Linked DNA regions of Homo sapiens: regions 2 and 3 are each linked to region 1. The links are contacts of gene promoters, found by promoter capture Hi-C in blood cells and fetal thymus (Javierre and others, 2016). All regions are on one chromosome and are shown on one strand. The core of a region is centred on a gene start or on the middle of the fragment in contact, and the rest is flanking DNA. Distances in the headings are between cores, read along the strand shown. Region 1 holds the start of CNPPD1 (cyclin Pas1/PHO80 domain containing 1). Region 2 holds the start of CTDSP1 (CTD small phosphatase 1). Region 3 overlaps ARPC2 (actin related protein 2/3 complex subunit 2).

Evidence for each region. The method cuts DNA at HindIII sites, captures the fragments that hold promoters and counts their contacts. A CHiCAGO score of 5 or more calls a contact.
Region 2: a contact is called between the fragment with the promoter of CTDSP1 here and the fragment with the promoter of CNPPD1 in region 1, in 10 of 17 cell types (non-activated CD4 T cells, naive CD4 T cells, naive B cells and 7 more). The highest score is 13.0, in non-activated CD4 T cells.
Region 3: a fragment that was not itself captured here is called in contact with the fragment with the promoter of CNPPD1 in region 1 in 9 of 17 cell types (activated CD4 T cells, naive CD8 T cells, total CD8 T cells and 6 more); the score reaches 10.2 in activated CD4 T cells.

Annotation. Positions count from the first base shown.
Region 1 is chr2:219,175,320-219,178,185 of GRCh38, forward strand. CNPPD1 (cyclin Pas1/PHO80 domain containing 1) reads right to left here and starts at 1,606. Exons shown (of 8, transcript NM_015680.6): 1 at 1,441-1,606; 2 at 904-1,012; 3 at 272-353. The coding sequence starts at 1,509. RefSeq lists silencers at 1,228-1,522, 1,361-1,420, 1,541-1,750, 1,821-1,870, 2,861-2,866 and an enhancer at 2,651-2,866. The HindIII fragment of the contact is 4,554 bases long and covers 556-2,866 here.
Region 2 is chr2:218,398,524-218,401,382 of GRCh38, forward strand. CTDSP1 (CTD small phosphatase 1) reads left to right here and starts at 1,345. Exons shown (of 7, transcript NM_021198.3): 1 at 1,345-1,634. The coding sequence starts at 1,568. RefSeq lists silencers at 1-262, 953-1,322, 1,393-1,472, 1,633-1,792. The HindIII fragment of the contact is 4,794 bases long and covers 1-2,859 here.
Region 3 is chr2:218,222,292-218,225,095 of GRCh38, forward strand. The region is part of intron 2 of ARPC2 (actin related protein 2/3 complex subunit 2); the gene reads left to right. Among named protein-coding and RNA genes, the nearest start is that of ARPC2, 6.5 kb to the left of the region's middle. RefSeq lists a silencer at 529-578. The HindIII fragment of the contact is 2,321 bases long and covers 113-2,433 here.

The DNA.
Region 1 (2,866 bases), core at 356-2,855:
AACCCCGTCTTTACTAAAAATACAAAAATTAGCCAGGGGCGGTGGTGTGTGCCTGTAGTCCCAGCTACTGGGGAGGCTGAGGCACAAGAATCACTGGAACCCAGGAGGCGGAGGTTGCGGTGAGCCGAGATTGTGCCACTGCACTCCAGCCTGGGTGACAAAGTGAGACTGTCTCAAAAAAAAAAAAAAGAAAGAAAGAAAAGAAAGAAAAGACGATTCCCCTTTCTCTAGGGCCCAAACACTCTCATCCTATCCTCATTTCCAGGCTCACCGGGACACATGAGCTACATATTTCTTCTGGAGTCGGCGAATAGGGCTGGGGGCTGCCTTCTGGAGCAGTTCGACAGCAATGTCTGCAAGGGACAGAAGGAAGGCCGAGTGAGCAAACAAGCACCCACACCCAACACACCAGTCCCCACTGCTAGCAGAAGACCCAGATCTGTATTTTCTGAGGCCTTGGGGACAGGACCATAGTAACAAAATAGAGATCAAATTCTCACACACTGAGACAAAAAGCCCATTCCAAGTTCGAATTTCAGCTCATTCTAACAGGAAAGCTTATTGCCCTGTCACATCAAACTATCCAGATTTATCTGTCACTGCTGTTCATCTGTGGCATAAACATGCCTTGTTTACTTGGGGAACATATGATGGATATCCTTCGAAAATTAGCTTTTCAATATATAAATCAAGAGTGATTTGTATAGATATATGTGGCAGCAATGTTTTTTATTCATTTGGGCTAAAAGAATGGGAAATGCAAACTGCCCTCTTGAACCAAGTACCAACGAGCTAGCAATGAAGAGACAGTGTAGCCACGGGGCAAACCTCGAGCCATTTTCTGCCTGATGACAATCCCATTTTCATGCTTCTCACTTGTCCAGTCACACAACACTGCCTAACCTGCCACCGGGCTGGAGAGCTCCTCCAGGCTACAGTCGGCTTCCCAGTCCCAGCCATAGTAGAGCCTCCTTCGGATCCGGGCACTCAGCTTCTGGTGTCCTGGGAGGAACTGAAACAGGGCAGGGGCAGCGGAGGGTGAAGGGCACGGAAAGGTATGATGCAGATCCTGGCTCTGGGCTGGAAGGCGGGGCAGGGGACAGGCCGGCCTCGCTGCTAGGGGGCCCGTGCCTTACCCAGACCCGCGTTCTGTAAATCGCTTGCCAATGGCAGCCTGGTCCATAGAGGGAGGAATGCCCCCACCCCCATCGAGGGTTCCCCGGGAGAAGTTCTCCGAGAAGGGCCCTCGTGTGGCCACCCCTACGCCCATTCCTATACTCCGCGGCTCTCCCTCCCGGCCCAAGCAGCCGCGGCCTCAAGGAAGCACTGCTCGAGCAGCTGCCGCCCAGTCCCGGCACAGCAGTCAGGCGAGCTCGCAGCGCCGCTCAGGCCGGGAGGGGCGCGCCGGGAGGCCGGGGAGGGGGCGGGACCCCCACTCACCGTGAAGTCCTGGAAGCCGGCGAGGGAGAAGGTGCCTTCTTCGTCCAGCAGGAGCCCGGTCAGGTCCATCGCGCCGCCAGTCGCCGCCCTGCGAAGGTGAACGGAAGGAAACGAGTTGTAGGGGGCTCGCGGAGCTGTCCTTGCCCGCCTGTCCACCTGCCAGCCTGCCTCCCCGGGGCGGGCCGCCGTCCTCGCCCTCGCCCTCGCAGCTCCCTCCCCCCGGCGGCGGAAGGCGGGGCCCGGGCTGAACTGGGCGCCTCTTCCTGTTCCGCCCCGGGCTTGGCGCGGCGCGCGGGGGCCCTAGGCCCGGGAAGGGAGGTGTCAAGCGTCCGTGCGACGCTCACCTCGCGGAGCAGAAAGGAGATGCGGCTGCGAGGCGCGTACTCCGCCTGTGCCGCGTCCGCCCGGCGTTTACAAGCCGCGGGGGTGCCGCCTGCAAGTCAGCGCCTGGCACTTCCTGCCGCCCATCTGGCCCAGCCTCCCGCCCCGACCCGCGGGCAGGAACCGGACTCGAACTCCTGGTCTCACGGAACGTGGCCAAGCCCCAGGCGCCTCTGAGAAATGGGGACAATTCGTAGGGGGGACCACGCCGCACTGAGGATGAACAAGCCAGGCGTAGCAATGGAGAAGTTAATGTGAATAAGACGAAACGCACAACAGGAAGTTGTTCCCAGTTGCTTTTTAGGAGAGATATTATACATACTCAGCAATGCATATGAAAAGCGTCTGAAAGGACACACAGGAAATTTAGCAGTGGGTGAACTATGAAAAGGAAGAGAAACTCAGGGTGTTTTTTTTTTTTACTGTAATTTGAACTTTTAAACCTAAGGCTACTGAGGAAATTCTGTGATCTTAAGCGAATGTAAGGCCTCAAAACGTGTCAACACGTCCACCCAAAAGTAAACTGCATCTACCCAAGGTTTTGTGTTGAAACCCACCTCCCGCCTCCGATCTCATGCTTGAGTAGGCCGAGGTGGGAAGAAGCTCCGATATGTGGAAGTGGGAAAGTTTAAGGAGATAGGAAAGAAACAACTTTTCTGAGTAGATGTTGTTTTCGAGTCTGTCGAGTCAAGCGCTGGTGTGTGTTTGTTTACCCACTGAGGGGAGGGAACTGGGAGGACCAGTGCGTTGAGGGTTGGTTGAGTAATGGGACGGCCACCGCCCTTCCCGAGCGAGCAGAAGCAGACCCTACCGGGGATACTGGGAATCTGGAAGCCCACTTCCTGCCCCACACGGGGATACCGGGGCAGCACCACACTCCCTAGCCGCCCTGCCTACTGTGGGATAAGAAAACGGGCTCGACTGCCTGGACCTAGACCCGGACTCGGAACCCGGGGTACTTCGTCAACCAGAAAACGAACCTGTGTAGGCGCAGTGTCAGCGGCAGCCGCCGGGGCGCATGCGCGGCCCGCCCTATCCGGGGGGG
Region 2 (2,859 bases), core at 95-2,594, 780 kb before region 1:
AGCGCACGAAGCCGCCGCGCCTTCTGGCAGACGCCGCTCCCCTCCCTTCCCCTCCCGGCCCCCGCGCGGGGCCTCCCCTCCCCGGCTCCCCCTCGGCAGGGCCTGGCGGACGTGCGCCGCGTCGCACCCGGCGGCCGGACGGGACAGGACGCGCCCGCCCCGCCCCGCCACGGAGGCCCGCGGGAGAGGGGGAGGGGAGGAAGTGCCGAGGGGTGTTTGTCGGGCTTGGCATTATTAATTTTTAAATGGTGAACTTACAAAATAGTAACGACGAGTGAAAAGAACTTCATAAACGAGGAAAAAGACCAACCCGCAGACCCACGGCGCGCACCACGGAGGGGCTTGCAGCGAGAAGACAGGGACCTCCGTTCCCAAGTGCCCAGCACTGCGCCACAGGCCGGGTGGAACGGGCCTTGAGGGCCTCTGGTTTGAGGTCCCCCACGGTCGGGCTTTGGGCCCACCGCGTGCGGCGCCGTGCTGGGCTCCTAGGATCGGCAGCGAGTCCAGTGACTCCCACCGCACCCCCAGTAATCACAGGGCGGCCGTCGACCGCGGGCAGGGGAGGGGGTCTGGGAAGGCCCCTGGAGAAGGTGGCATTTCCTCGAGGTCGGTGGAATTTGGCTACGCGAAAGGAACAGCGCGTACGAAAACTTCAGGCGGGAACGCGCGGTGGCCCGTGCGCGGCGGGTAGACGTGCGGGGCCCCGGGTGGGGCCGTGGGGAGAGGTCGGCAGGGGGCTTTCCCAGGGCAGAGAGTTAGAATTTCACGTCCTACAGACCGGGGGCACCTCGCCCTGGGGCTGCGGGGGGCGGCGACCGTCCCATTCAAGAGCGTGATTCTGAGGTTTGCACAGCTGTTTCGGGCCAGCAGAGCCTTCGCTGGCTCTTGACGTCCTTGCGAGGTGATCTCTGCGACCACCAGACAGGAGAGAAGACCCATTTTACAGATGAGGTAGTGCTATCTCCAAGTCCTCAACGAGGAAACCGAGAAGCCTCTAGTCCCGGGTCTTCAGAAAACGCAGAGGTGGAGCCGCGCCGCACTCGGGCACTCCCCGGCGTGGGCGCTCCCGGCGGGCGGGCCTTGGCCGAGGGCGCTCGGCGGCCTGGAACGGTGAGCCGGGTGCCGGGCCTGCCACGCAGCCGCAGAGACTCAGCCCCGCCGGCGGGCGGCAGGAAGGGAGGCGACGCCCCCTGGAGCGCGGCAGGAACCCGGCCCGGCCCGCCTCCCAGTCCGCCTAGCCGCGCCGGTCCCAGAAGTGGCGAAAGCCGCAGCCGAGTCCAGGTCACGCCGAAGCCGTTGCCCTTTTAAGGGGGAGCCTTGAAACGGCGCCTGGGTTCCATGTTTGCATCCGCCTCGCGGGAAGGAAACTCCATGTTGTAACAAAGTTTCCTCCGCGCCCCCTCCCTCCCCCTCCCCCCTAGAACCTGGCTCCCCTCCCCTCCGGAGCTCGCGGGGATCCCTCCCTCCCACCCCTCCCCTCCCCCCCGCGCCCCGATTCCGGCCCCAGCCGGGGGGGAGGCCGGGCGCCCGGGCCAGAGTCCGGCCGGAGCGGAGCGCGCCCGGCCCCATGGACAGCTCGGCCGTCATTACTCAGATCAGCAAGGAGGAGGCTCGGGGCCCGCTGCGGGGCAAAGGTACCGGGGCTGCGGGGAGGGGGCCGAAGCCGGGGCGCCGTGGGAGGAGAGAAGGGGCCGGGATCTTCCCCAGGGGAGCCGCCGCCGCCGCCCCGGGCGGCCGCCTTAGCTGTGCCCGAAGCTCCCAGCCCGAGAGGGAGCAGGGAGAGAGTTTGAACTCAGAGGAGGCTCAGAGACGCGGGGCGGGGCCTGGCGCCTTTGGGGCGCTCCTGTTCGCTCGAGGTGAGGAAACTGAGGCAGGAATAGAGAGGGAACTCTTCGGGGGTTTCCTGGCAGGCATTGCGTGGTGCATGGGCGCCCCCCCACCATTGGCGCCAATGGGGCTGGGAGATGGGGGAGCTGAGGAGGGCGCCTATGGGCCACCCGCTGAGACTCCGCCCCACCCCCCACCCCCACCCCCCCGGGCTGCGGTCCGGTAGGGTCTTGGGAGGGGGCGCCGAGGTGACAGCAGGCTGGGGAGGCTTGGAGGGATCTCCCGCCAACACACAGCTACGTTCCCCACAAACTTCGCGTCACGCGTGGAGGCGCCGACCCCCTCGGAGGCACAGAGAGGACGGCCGGCACTTCCAAGAGTCGCTTGGCGCCCGCGGGGAGAGTCGTGCGCCTAGTGGGCACGCACCACCCCGCAAAGCCTCGCCGCCCCGACGAGGCTGCGTCCCCCAGCGTGGCTGGGCCGGGGTGGGGGGGTCTGTCTTCTCCTTTTCCCCGTGTGGACCTCAGGATCTGGACGCTGCCCCCAGGTCTGCCCACCCTCGCCTGGGTCTGGCTGCCCCGGAACTGAGGGCAAGGTGGAAAGGCTAGTTGCAGGGGGCCGGAGGGGGGTGGGGTGGGAGGGGTATCTGTCAATCAGGCTGCTGGGCTCCAGGTCGGAGGTCTGGGCGGGGCAGGGCAAACAGATGGCCACTGGACACTGGCCCCAGGCCGCGGGACTGCACCCCTGCCTCTGGGCCCAGCCGCAGTGAGGACTTCGTACCCACGGGGGTGGAGAGGATGGAGGGAGGGCAGGGGTGGACTGCCCTGGGTCCCAGGCCCTGGCTGTCCTGAGCAGGGGTGCTCAGGTAAGGTGGGGTCAGGAGGCACCGCAATGGGGCTGATCAGCAGCAGTCATGGAGGCTGTGAGAGGCAGGGAGAGAGCACCCCAGGACCTCCTTCTCCAGGCCACGCACTCCCTATGTGGGCGCCTTAATACCTGCTAGACCTATTTGTCTGGGAGCTGCAGGAGCCT
Region 3 (2,804 bases), core at 23-2,522, 950 kb before region 1:
TGGATCCTAGGGTGCATTCAGGAGTAAAAACCCCAAAGTTGTTAATGAGAAAAGAAGATGAGATAATACAGTTGCCAGAAGCCCTTTCTGGATTGATTATTGACATTCTAGAAGCTTCCTTAGAGAAAAGATAGAAGAAAATTTTTTCTAAAGGGTTTTAAGAATAGCTCTTAAAACCTGTCTGAATGAATTGATTATGTTTTAGTGTCTTGGGTTGTCCAGGCAGTAACTCTGAGGACTTACCCAGCCGGCTTGTTCTAGGATTCCAGACATTACAGCAGTCTGACACTTATAGGAGTTCTGTTTTTCCTTGTACTGCTAACCAATTCCTGATTCAGGGAATTACCGCAATCCTAAAACCTCTCCCAACCACAGCTTCAGAGTCCGATCTCTGACTCCACCTAGGAGAAGAACTAATTTATTGATTACCTTCTATGAGCTAGGCACTGTGCTATATGCCTTAACATGGTTTCATTTCATTTCTGTGACAGATAGTGGATCTCATTTACAACTGAGAAAACCAGGGCTCTTGAGGATTGGGGGTGGGGGTAGATATTGAATAAGTAACTACTACATATTAAGTAAGCACCGTGCAGGCATCCTTCACTGTGATTCTTGACCTTGTTTATCGTATGGCACACAGAACATGATTGTATTTGTATGGCACATTTGGGTAAATGGTCTAGCCTCTCAGAGATCCTGCCACCTGCTGCCTGCCCTAAGGGATATGGGGATCATTACCTCAGCATATCTATAACTTAAAAGACACCGTTTGAGAAACTTTGCTGTACAGTAGTCCCCCCTTATCTGTGGTTTTGCTTTCTGCAGTTTCAGTTACCTGCAGTGAGCAGTGAACCATGGTCTGAAAATATTAAATGGAAAATCCCAGAAATAAACAATCCATTAATTTTAAATTGTGCACCATTCTGAGTAGCATAATGAAATCTTGCGCTGTCCCGCCCAGGACATGAATCATCTTTTTGTCTAGCATATCTACAGTGTGTACGCTACCCTCTGTTAGTCGCTTAATAGCTGTCTAGGTTATCAGATTGACTGTCACAGCATTGTAGTGCTTGTGTTCAAGTTACCCTTATTTTACTTAATAATGGCTCCAAAGTACAGGAGTAATGATGCTGGCAATTTGGATATGCCAAAGAGAACCCATGAAGTGATTCCTTTAAGTAAAAAAAGTGACCTTGGTGTTTCTTTGCTACAGTTCAGTGCTATCCACACTTTTATTTATCCACTGGGTGTCTTGGAACATATCCCCCACAGATAAGGGGAGACTGCTGTACTGCTGGACATATATCATCTCAGTCTTCACACCAACCTGGGAGGTAGATGTTTTGTCCCCATTTTGTAGAAGAGGAACCTGAGGCCCGGTGACATTTGAGGAGCATTGCCTGTGGTCACATAGCCAATAAATTCTGAATTCTAAATAACTTGCTTTTTCTCACCCCCAGCATCTGAAATTTTAGCAGCTGGTAGAACAGTAAATAATGTAACTATTAATTCTGGGGGCCTATTTAGTGGAACACTTTTCCTGGGCCAGTCTTCCTCCCGCTCCTTTGTAATTTTAAACCACAGAAGTAAAATAACAAACGCCAGGTCTTGGAATTGAGAAGCAATCTTGTGATGGTATACTTCACGCTCAGCAAACTCATCGTTAAGGCACTGAGTTCTCGGACCTCTAACTCCCAGAAGACTTCCCATGAAGTCTCCTTTGGCCTAATACTCTCCTCAGCAGCCATTCTCTCTCTTCTAGCCATAAATAGTAAACTAAAATATTAATGAATGTGATTTGACAAATATTGCTAAGTCAGACAGCAGACCACTTAAGATCGATCGTAGCAACTTTTCCCACAAGGATCTGTGCTCAGGATACTTTATGCCTAGAGAAATTTGAAATTAGAGACTCAAAGTGTGTATGACTTGGAGCCCAAAGGTTATTTATTTATAGTTGGTTTTTCTCAGGTCTTTTGACAAAGTAGGAGAGTGAGGAACTCAGCCCTTCTTTGGCTGAATTAAAACCTAAAGGTTAAAAAAAAACTTACTAAGTGATGTAATAATGGGCTTTTATAAACTCCCTGACTCTTCAGCACAGTCAGCCTTCCCCAGGAAAGTATGCTTCCATGCTTCCTCCCATTGGTCATCCTCTTAATATTTCATTCAGTTGGTCCATGATTAACATTTCCATATTTTTGTTCTTTGCTCTTGTTTTCTAGAGGTGAGGAATGGTATTGGACTCGTTGCCTTTGTTTCCTGGCTACAGTTTCAAAATGAAGGCTCAGAAGCAATTTAAATTTTCATCTAGTTTTTTCCTTCTATTCTGAACTCTCTGCTTCTCCGTAAACCCACTTGATACTTCAATTCGTAGAGATACCCAGTGCGCTTTTCCTAAGTCACATATAGGGCTTTGAAGAAGCAAGGTGAAGCTTTGTATGATTCGTATAGGTTGATTTTTCAGCAGGGCTAGCATGCTTCATAGAAGCCAGTTTTTTTGAAAGGTATTGTCTGGCTTCTATATCAGCTTTTTAACACTCATAAACCATGTTATATATTCCATTATTTCCCAGCATCCCTGGAGAGCAACTTAGTCTTCGTTTCTTTCGCAGGTAATGGAGCAGAGATCGTGGAAAGATACGTACTTGATTAAGAGGTCTTGAGCAAGTTAGACAAAAATAAATGTGAAAACATGCGCATCTTGTTTGCTAGCCCCTAAAACAAAGTGGAATCATTGAGTTTACAGGTAGCTAGCTGGTAAGGCAATAGTCTTCATTTGCTTCCTACTTTGGACTTCAGGT